Linked DNA regions of Homo sapiens: regions 2 and 3 are each linked to region 1. The links are contacts of gene promoters, found by promoter capture Hi-C in blood cells and fetal thymus (Javierre and others, 2016). All regions are on one chromosome and are shown on one strand. The core of a region is centred on a gene start or on the middle of the fragment in contact, and the rest is flanking DNA. Distances in the headings are between cores, read along the strand shown. Region 1 has its middle 14 kb from the start of MIR99B. Region 2 holds the start of IGLON5 (IgLON family member 5). Region 3 holds the start of SIGLEC10 (sialic acid binding Ig like lectin 10).

Evidence for each region. The method cuts DNA at HindIII sites, captures the fragments that hold promoters and counts their contacts. A CHiCAGO score of 5 or more calls a contact.
Region 2: the fragment with the promoter of IGLON5 here is called in contact with a fragment that was not itself captured in region 1 in 1 of 17 cell types (naive B cells); the score reaches 5.7 in naive B cells.
Region 3: a contact is called between the fragment with the promoter of SIGLEC10 here and a fragment that was not itself captured in region 1, in 4 of 17 cell types (erythroblasts, megakaryocytes, endothelial precursors and 1 more). The highest score is 7.6, in erythroblasts.

Annotation. Positions count from the first base shown.
Region 1 is chr19:51,676,901-51,680,165 of GRCh38, reverse strand. No RefSeq gene overlaps it. Among named protein-coding and RNA genes, the nearest start is that of MIR99B, 14 kb to the left of the region's middle. The HindIII fragment of the contact is 6,463 bases long and covers 1-3,265 here.
Region 2 is chr19:51,309,964-51,313,228 of GRCh38, reverse strand. It overlaps IGLON5 (IgLON family member 5), which reads right to left and starts at 1,585. Exons shown (of 8, transcript NM_001101372.3): 1 at 1,303-1,585. The coding sequence starts at 1,381. The HindIII fragment of the contact is 5,776 bases long and covers 1-3,265 here.
Region 3 is chr19:51,415,989-51,419,253 of GRCh38, reverse strand. SIGLEC10 (sialic acid binding Ig like lectin 10) reads left to right here and starts at 1,612. Exons shown (of 11, transcript NM_033130.5): 1 at 1,612-1,709; 2 at 1,789-2,172; 3 at 2,304-2,588; 4 at 2,897-2,944; 5 at 3,087-3,265. The coding sequence starts at 1,673. SIGLEC10-AS1 (SIGLEC10 antisense RNA 1) reads right to left here. Exons shown (of 3, transcript NR_164125.1): 1 at 3,122-3,265; 2 at 2,524-2,825; 3 at 1,057-2,122. RefSeq lists enhancers at 1,383-1,452, 1,513-1,682. The HindIII fragment of the contact is 3,908 bases long and covers 1,174-3,265 here.

The DNA of each region.
Region 1 (3,265 bases), core at 431-2,930:
TCTTCAGTCAAAATCAAACTCATGACATACAAGAGACCTTGGAATTGCATGCCTATGAGGTTTTTAAACAGGATGACAAAGCAGCTCTTCCATGTTCAAAGCAATACTTAAACAAAAAGCCGATACTGTACTCTGCAGATGACAATACCCACCCAGCAGGACGTACTGATAACTGAGAGTTGCTTGAAAAAAAGTGGTTTATTTGATGAACCTACTGAAGAAATAGCCAAACGAAGGTGCTTTGAGAGTGGATGTATTTCACACGATACATGCTGTAAACACTTTGCTATTGTTTTGCTCCTGCCAATGTGCTGAAACAGGTGCATAGCTATTGAATGCTGAGATACAGATGGAAATTCAGAAATTATTTTTGCGGGGTTGTCAGCCTTCTAAAATATCTCCCAATGATCTCCACTTCCTGATATTCATGTGTTTGTGTAACCTCCTCCCCAAAGGATGAACTTAGTGACTTACTTATAACTAATGGTATATGGCAAAAGTGATGGAATGTCATTTCCAATATTAGATTACAAAAAACTGTGTGACTTCTGTCTTGCTAGCAAACTCTACTGCCTTTCTGATTTTCATGTATTAATCAAGTAAGTGGCTATATTCTGAGCTGCCATTTTTGAAAGACTCATGAGGTAAGGAACTGAGGGAAGCCCCTGCCAACAGCTAGAAAGGAACTGAGGCTCTCATTCCAATACCCTGTGAGGAACTGCATGTTGCCAAAAGCCAATGAATAAACTTGGAAGTGGGTCATTCCCCAGTAGAGCCTTCAGATGAGGATGAAGACCCTGAGTCAACATCTTGATTTCAACCTAGTGAGAAACCGTAAGCCAAGGACCAAGCTAAGCTGTGCTCAGATTCCTGACCACAGAAACTGTAAGATAAGTGTGTATCAAGATGCTCAGTTTTGGAATAATTCCCTAGGTAACAATAGATGGCTAATATTAATACTTTTTTGTTTTTCTGTTATATGAATAGTATTTTGATATCTTGAAAGTGAATTGTCTTTCTCTATTGTCATATTTCTCATCCAAGATTTCAGGAGACATTCTTCCCAACAGCCTACGTGAAATAGCAAGCAAATGCAAAAATCTTATGGGAAAACAAAAAAACCTAAGAGAGGGGAGAACTTTCTCATTTTTGAGAATGGCAGTCCAGGCTATATGGATCAACTCCTCTGCTGAAAGTCATTAAAAGTGGCGGATAAAATACTCAAAACAATCTTTATAAAATAATGGAAAGACAATCTAGTGAGGAATTTCCTAGCTAAAATTTAGAAAGTGAGAACTCCAAGAACTAAGCAGAGCATTCAAACCTGCTTTTGACTGATGAGCATAGGCTTATTCTGATTATAAAAATGAGCTGTAGTTTTCAACAGTCTCCTGAGAGGAAAGGAACAAAAGTAAAAGTGGCACCAAACTGGTACTATGGCATATGGTAAAAGCAAACTGAAACCCTCCTTCATGGATGTACTTTGATCATAGAATGAAAATGATCCCAGGTAGAAGGTCTGAGGTACGAGGAGGAAACAGGTGGTAAATATATGGATGTATCCATCAGGATTCGAATAGGAAGCTGATGGCTCATTCAAGAGCTTAATTAAACATAGACTTGGCCGGACACGGTGGCTCACGTCTGTAATCCTAGCACTTTGGGAGGCCAAGGCAGGCGGATCACTTGAGATCAGGAGTTCCAGACCAGCCTGGCCAACATGGTGAAACTCTGTCTCTACTAAAAATACAAAAAGTGGCCAGGAGCGGTGGCTTACGCCTGTAGTCCCAGCTACTCAGGAGGCTGAGGCAGGAGAATTGCTTGAACCCGGGAGATGGAGGTTGCAGTGAGTCGAGATCGCGTCACTGCACTCCAGCCTGGGTGACAGAGCAAGACTCCGTCTCAAAATAAATAAATAAATGAATAAATAAATAATAAACATAGGCCAATGAAGGGACTAAATAGAGATGTAGGCAGGATTAAGAGGTCCAAAAAGAGATGGTGCAGCATCCAAGGACAAGCAGCAGTGGGAAACGGGTACCAGCCTAGACCTGATGGGGCAAGGGCAGTAGCCTTGGAGGATGGGCTGCCTTATAGGACTTGTAGCACAGAGGAATGCAGCCACGGCCAGAACTGTAGGGAGAGAACAGGAGGAATAAAAACCCTGACTTCTTTCCTCCCACCCTTCAATCTCCGGACAGTGCCTCCCACTGGCAAGGGGAAGCTGATGATGCGGTCCTGAGAGGTCAGCCTGTCAGTGCACAGAAATGAGCAGAGACAAGTGAATGATGGATCTGAAGAGGCACAGGTCATCCCTGTTGTCACTGAGCACCCATTACGTTCTTTTGTTTGGATGAACAAGCTCACATCCTTAACACAGAGATGCCCAGTATTAGTTCTACTATTACTGCAGAGGGAAGTCATTCCTGCTATACTTCTGAAACTGAAATTGTAACAACAGCCATGAAAAGTGCTCTTCATGTAAGATATCAGAGTGAAATTGAAGTGGGAAAGAAACAATTAGTTACCATAAAACATAATAGCTGCAGTTCCTGCTTCTATAGCTGGTCATAAAGCCTAAATTGATAACCATTTTGTGTCTCTCTTACCTTCCTCTAGCACTTCGTTTCCTTGGAATTTTTTATCTGGTAGAGTGACCCAAAGGATCCAAGTCATTAATGCTTCGTCTTTATTGCACTGCTGCAGTTATCCATTGACCATTATTCTGGACAGAGTATAAAAAGCCTCCCGACGGAATAGTCTCGGTTCCACTCCTAATTCTCCTTGATTGCACTGTATAGCAACAACATATTTTTCTCCTAATAATTGGATCAATTGGTACCTTTACTAGCTTAGTAAAGGTACCTCCTTCTCTGCCTGATGGTTTAGCATCATGACTTGCCCAAAATGGCCAAGAGGCAGCCTCTCCTTCCACTTGAAACCATAACTGGGTCCTTTAGTGGAAGTGTTTCTCCTTGAAACACTAGGACTCGCAAAGCCACCCACTCCAAAGTTGCAAATTTAGGAAGCAAAAAATTGCATAGGTGTGTGATTAGGTGGAATAAGGAAGAGGAACCAGTTCTACTGTGTCCAGAATTGGTTCCTTCCGGTGGGTTCTTGGGCTTGCTGACTTCAAGAATGAAGCCGCAAACTCTTGCAGTGAGTGTTACAGTTCTTAAAAATGGCGTGTCTAGAGTTTCTTCCTTCAGATGTTCAGATGTGTCCAGAGTTTCTCGCTTCCGGTGGGTTTGTGGTCTCACTTGAC
Region 2 (3,265 bases), core at 336-2,835, 370 kb after region 1:
GGTCAGGTGGGAGACGGGGGAGGACTAGCAAGGGACTGAGGCTGTGGCCCACCAGGTCCCTGCGTCCTGCGTGGATGGGGCTGTGTTTGTGTGACTGGTGTCTGCAGGTGCTGCTTCGGGTGGGACGCTGTGACGGGGTTTCTGTGCCAGACTTGGTCTATGCGGGCGGCCTCTCTGAGACTCTTGGGGACTCTGTCGGGGTTCTTGGTTGTCCCTGGAACTCTTTGTTCAGGGGAGGGCCTGGGGGAATCCTCCAGAAAGTCTGAATTAACCCAGCTCCCTGCCCTCCTGAGCGCCCACCCTCCAGCCTCCTGCCTCCTTGCACTCTCCTCCCTTTTCTTAGGGGGAAATCTAGGAATCTCCTTGACCACCCCCTGCCTGCCAGGCCCTACTGGGGAGACTCAAGGTCCAGCTATCTAACCTCAGTGCAGAAACCTGCCCCTGGCCCTCTCCCCAACTGGGAGGGCCGGGCCGGGCCGGGGTTAACCCTTCAACCTGCTTTAACCCTTCCCTTCCGTCTTTCCTTCATCCTCCCATGCCCATCGCTCTTCCACTGTCCAGCCCCACGAACCTAGACATTCAATCAGAGCTTGGGAATCCAAGACCCCAGCCCAGCACCCCAACTTCCTGTATCTCCAGCTCCCTTCTCCCCCACATAACTGCAACCTCCCCAAGTACCAACACTTTCTCTCAACCTAGATGACCCTGCTGGGGGATTTCAGACCCTTCCCCTCTTTTCCTGACCCTGGGACTAGGTCTGTGGACACCCTTGTCCCCTCCTCTTACTGACCCTGGGAAGGCATCCATCCCCTGACCTCTGTCCCGAGATGACTACCCCAGCCCCCGGCAAGGACCTCTTCAGGGACCCTCTCCACGTACAGATGAAGACCCCTAACAGGGCATTATCCCCTGCCCCCCACCCCAACTCAGTTCGGAGATCCGACCCGGGGACCCCGAGTCCAGTGTCTGCCCCCTCCTCAACAGGAGCCGCAGACTCCTGCCCCCAGGCAGGGCTAGGTGTCTGCGACCCTCTTGCCTGCTCGGGGAAGCAGACCTCCGCCCCTAGACCCGGCTCCGGCCCGAGGACGCCGACCCCTGCCCCGGGGCGCGGACCCCCACGTCCGAGGTCCCCCTGCCCAGCCAGGGAATGCAGACCCCACCCCCGGGCCCAGACCCCGGCGTCCCGGGGCCTCCCCGCGCCGGCCCAGGGATGCAGCCCTCGACCCCCACCCCTGATCCCCCGATTACCCACCCAAGACCCTGGCGTCCCGGCCGAGCCCCCCGCCCCCGGCGCTGCGGTACCTCGGCTGATGACGGCCAAGCCGGCCAGGGCGGCGGCGGCGAGAAGCCGGAGCCGGGCCCCGGGCGCAGGGGGGGGCATCGCGGCAGAGGCGGCGCGGAGGGGGAGGGGAAAGGGGGGGCCGGTCCGGGGCGCGCGAGGCCTGGGGGGAGAGGGGGGAGGGGGAGGGGGACCCCGCCTGCGCTGCACCGGCCCGGGGGGCGGCGGGGGCGGGGGGAGGGGGCTGGGGGGGCGCGACGAGGCGGCTGGAGCTGCTGCAGACCCGGGGAGGGGGGCGGCGCTGACGGGCAGGGAGACCGGCCAATCAGGAGAGGTGGGGGGCCGGGGAGGCGGGGTCAAGGGGGGGTTGCTTGTTGGAGGGAGAGGCCTTTGTTACTGCGGCCCGGCCCCTACCCCTCCCGCCCCAGGCGTCCCCACGTCTTTCCACCACATCCGCAGAACACGGAGTCTGGGATACTTCCTAAAACCCAGCTCCCTCCTCCTTCAAGTCCCAATCTCATCCTCCCATGGACCTAGGAGACTAGCCCCAGTCCCTCCTCTCTCAGACCCAGGAGCCCAGGTCCCCAGCCCCTCCTCCCTCAGACCCTGGAGTCCAGGCCCCCAGCCCCTCCTCCCTCAGACCCAGGAGTCCAGGCCCCCAGCCCCTCCTCCCTCAGACCCAGGAGTCCAGGCCCCCAGCCCCTCCTCCCTCAGCCCAGGAGTCCAGGCCCCCAGCCCCTCCTCCCTCAGACCCAGGAGTCCAGGCCCAGCCCCTCCTCTCTCAGACCCTGGAGCCCAGGCCCCCAGCCCCTCCTCCCTCAGACCCAGGAGTCCAGGCCCCCAGCCCCTCCTCCCTCAGACCCTGGAGCCCAGGCCCCCAGCCCCTCCTCCCTCAGACCCAGGAGTCCAGGCCCCCAGCCCCTCCTCCCTCAGACCCAGGAGTCCAGGCCCCCAGCCCCTCCTCCCTCAGACCCTGGAGCCCAGGCCCCCAGCCCCTCCTCCCTCAGACCCAGGAGTCCAGGCCCCCAGCCCCTCCTCCCTCAGACCCAGGAGTCCAGGCCCCCAGCCCCTCCTCCCTCAGACCCTGGAGCCCAGGCCCCCAGCCCCTCGTCCCTCAGACCCAGGAGTCCAGGCCCCCAGCCCCTCCTCCCTCAGACCCAGGAGTCCAGGCCCCCAGCTCCTCCTCCCTCAGACCCTGGAGTCCAGGCCCCCAGCCCCTCCTCCCTCAGAGCCAGGAGTCCAGGTCCCCAGCCCCTCCTCCCTCAGGCCCAGGAGTCCAGGTCCCCAGTTCCTCCTCCCTCAGACCTAGGAGTCCAGGCCCCCAGCCCCTCCTCCCTCAGACCCAGGAGTCCAGGTCCCCAGTCCCTCCTCCCTCAGACCCTGGAGTCCAGGCCCCCAGCCCCTCCTCCCTCAGACCCTGGAGTCCAGGCCCCCAGCCCCTCCTCCCTCAGACCCAGGAGTCCAGGCCCCCAGCCCCTCCTCCCTCAGACCCAGGAGTCCAGGCCCCCAGCCCCCTCCTCCCTCAGACCCAGGAGGCCAGGCCCCCAGGCCCCTCTTCCTGTGGGCCACAGTTCAGCTTTTCCATCTATTTTCATGGATAACGAAAACACTGACTTTTGGAGTGAAATTTGCTTTTTTCCTCCACCCCAACCCTCATCCCCAGTATAATAAGGCAATGGGAAGGGATTGGGGGACTTATCTTGGGGGAGCAGGTGGGGAGGAAACCATAATCCAGGGTTTAGGTGCAAAACATCCTGGCTCCCTGTTCTTTCACTGACTTGGCTGTGTGACCTTGGACAAGCCATTTCTCTTCCCAGAACCTCAGCGTCTTCCCCTGCAAGGTGGAAAATTCCCTATTGCCCAAGGTTATTGAGAAGAATGAGAGATCTTGGAGCAGCTCCTGGCTCCAGCCAGCACCTCAAAAACCTGTAGTGAGTTTCTCCCTCCCCTTTCCACTTTGCATCTGTTTACTAGGTGTATTCCACC
Region 3 (3,265 bases), core at 363-2,862, 260 kb after region 1:
CCATGATCACACCACTGCACTCCAGCCTGGGCAACAGAGCAAGACCTTGTCTCAAAAACAAAAAACAAAAATGCCATGGATGAAAGAACCAGGACAGGGCAGAGGCTGGGTCATCTCCTCCAGGAGGCCTCTCCTGACTTCCCTCCACCAGGAAGAGCTGACCACTCCTTCCCCAGGTCCCATCCTGAATGTCTGTCCAGCATCCAGTTCATTTAGGGGACCTTCTGTACTTTGTTTCTAAGAATCTTCATTTGCTAACCTGGGGCCCTGGAGCTGACTCACCATGGAGGATTCACCTCCAAGTCCCCCTAAAGCTCAGTGCTTGATACCCAAGGTATGTGGAGGTTGAAGGATGAGTTCTGTGTTTCGGTGTGACCCAAACAGAGTCATTTCAGGAAGAGCTCAGTGAGGGGAAAACATCTTGTAGAGTTTACTCCATTCATTGCAAATTACCCCTTCCCTAGTCTGTTCCCCCCACTCTGCCCCTCACTCCCGCCTTCCTCAAACTCTTCCCATCAGCATTAGCTTTGGACATATGTGTTCTAATCCCAATGGGTGTCCCAATTGAATGACAGAGGAGGAAGGGAGACTGGGAAGTGGACTAGGGCCTGGTTGGGGCAGGAGACTGCTTCTGGGGACCAAGGGTCAGTGAGCTCACCAGGAAGCATGAAGAGGTGGAGCTGACACCACCCTACGGTGGCCAGATTTAGAAAAAAAGAAATTCAACATGCTCAGTTAAATTTGAATTTTAGGCCAGGTGCGGTGGTTCACACCTGTAATCTCAGCACTTTGGGAGGTCAAGGCAGGTGGATCATTTGAGGTCAGGAGTTCAAAACCAGCCCTGCCAACATGGTGAAACCCCACCTCTACTAAAAATACAAAAATTAGCTTGGCGTGGTGGCGCGTGCCTGTAAGCCCAGACTCAGGAGGCTGAGGCAGGAGAATCACTTCAGCCTGGGAGGTGGAGGTTGCAGTAAGCAGAGATTGCACCACTGCACTGCAGCCTGGGTGACAGAGTGAGACTCTGTCTCAAAATATAATTAATTAATTAATTAATTTGAATTTCAGATAAATTTATTTTGCTTTCTGGTATAAGTATATCCCATGCAGCATTTCGGACATACTTATACCAAAAAACATAAAATAAAATACTTTATATTGTCTGTGAAAGCTTTAACCAGGCATCCTGCATTTTACCTGACAAGACCAGCCCCCTCCAGTAACGGTCCCTTCCCCTGTACCCACCACCTCCACCACCAGTGGCCCAGATAAGGGTAGCTCACTGTGGACTTCTCACTTCTGCTTTTCCGATGACCCAGGGCCCAGAGGGAGAGCCCCCACCCCACTACCCCACCCCCAGCCAGGCCCCCAGGATAGACACAAGCCTGCCCTCTCCTCCTACACAGGGAGCTCTGGAAGGACCAGCTCAACAAGCCCAAGGCCAGGCTGGGCCCCCAGGAGACCCAGAGGACAACTGGGCAAGGTGGGCCGGAGAGTGTGGGGGAAGGCAAAGGAGTTCTGTGAGCTCAGCGTCTGAAGCTCATTTCATGCATCAGGCCCCAGGGCTCAGCTTCCGCCTTCGGCTTCCCCTTCTGCCAAGAGCCCTGAGCCACTCACAGCACGACCAGAGAACAGGCCTGTCTCAGGCAGGCCCTGCGCCTCCTATGCGGAGATGCTACTGCCACTGCTGCTGTCCTCGCTGCTGGGCGGTGAGTGGGCCAAGGGCCGGAAAGGACCTGGGGCGGAGCTAGGGCTGGGGTTGCAGGTTGAGCCTCTGTCTCCCCACAGGGTCCCAGGCTATGGATGGGAGATTCTGGATACGAGTGCAGGAGTCAGTGATGGTGCCGGAGGGCCTGTGCATCTCTGTGCCCTGCTCTTTCTCCTACCCCCGACAGGACTGGACAGGGTCTACCCCAGCTTATGGCTACTGGTTCAAAGCAGTGACTGAGACAACCAAGGGTGCTCCTGTGGCCACAAACCACCAGAGTCGAGAGGTGGAAATGAGCACCCGGGGCCGATTCCAGCTCACTGGGGATCCCGCCAAGGGGAACTGCTCCTTGGTGATCAGAGACGCGCAGATGCAGGATGAGTCACAGTACTTCTTTCGGGTGGAGAGAGGAAGCTATGTGAGATATAATTTCATGAACGATGGGTTCTTTCTAAAAGTAACAGGTATGGAATGGGGTGGGAACCCCTGCCTCTCACACTGGGGAGGGACCCTGGGGACAGCCTATGGGCTGAGCAGAGAGGGCTCTCAGGGACCCCTGCAGCACAAGAATCTCCCACCACGGTCTCTGTCCCAGCCCTGACTCAGAAGCCTGATGTCTACATCCCCGAGACCCTGGAGCCCGGGCAGCCGGTGACGGTCATCTGTGTGTTTAACTGGGCCTTTGAGGAATGTCCACCCCCTTCTTTCTCCTGGACGGGGGCTGCCCTCTCCTCCCAAGGAACCAAACCAACGACCTCCCACTTCTCAGTGCTCAGCTTCACGCCCAGACCCCAGGACCACAACACCGACCTCACCTGCCATGTGGACTTCTCCAGAAAGGGTGTGAGCGCACAGAGGACCGTCCGACTCCGTGTGGCCTGTGAGTGTGGCCTGGGAGGGTGGGGTGTGCAGACAGCCCCGGTGGGTGGGGAGGTGGAGGAGCCCAGTGGGACAGTGAGCGGCTCCCAGCTCAGGAGCATCCAGGGAGAGGAAGCTGTGGGGTCCCAGGATGCCGCCGCAGCCCTGGGAGGGGGATGGGAATGGCGTCTGGTCCACACACGTGAGCCCTGGCGCTGGTTGTCACTTGTCTTCCCGGGATAGTCCCACTTTCTTTTCCCTGAGGGAGTTTTTTCCAGGTGTGAGGAATAAATTGTCCCTCCCTGAAGCCAGCTCACAATCTTGTTGCAGATGCCCCCAGAGACCTTGTTATCAGCATTTCACGTGACAACACGCCAGGTACTGAGGGCCGTCGGGCTGGGGCTGGGCCAGTTGTCTTTAGATGAAAAGGCTTCAGGGGATGAGGGGATGTGCTCCTCCCTGTACCCCTTCTCTCTTTCTCCCTCCCTTTCTCTCTTTTTTTTTTTTCCTCCCACTCCAGCCCTGGAGCCCCAGCCCCAGGGAAATGTCCCATACCTGGAAGCCCAAAAAGGCCAGTTCCTGCGGCTCCTCTGTGCTGCTGACAGCCAGCCCCCTGCCACACTGAGCTGGGTCCTGCAGAACAGAGTCCTCTCCTCGTCCCATCCCTGGGGCCCTAGACCCCTGGGGCTGGAGCTGCCC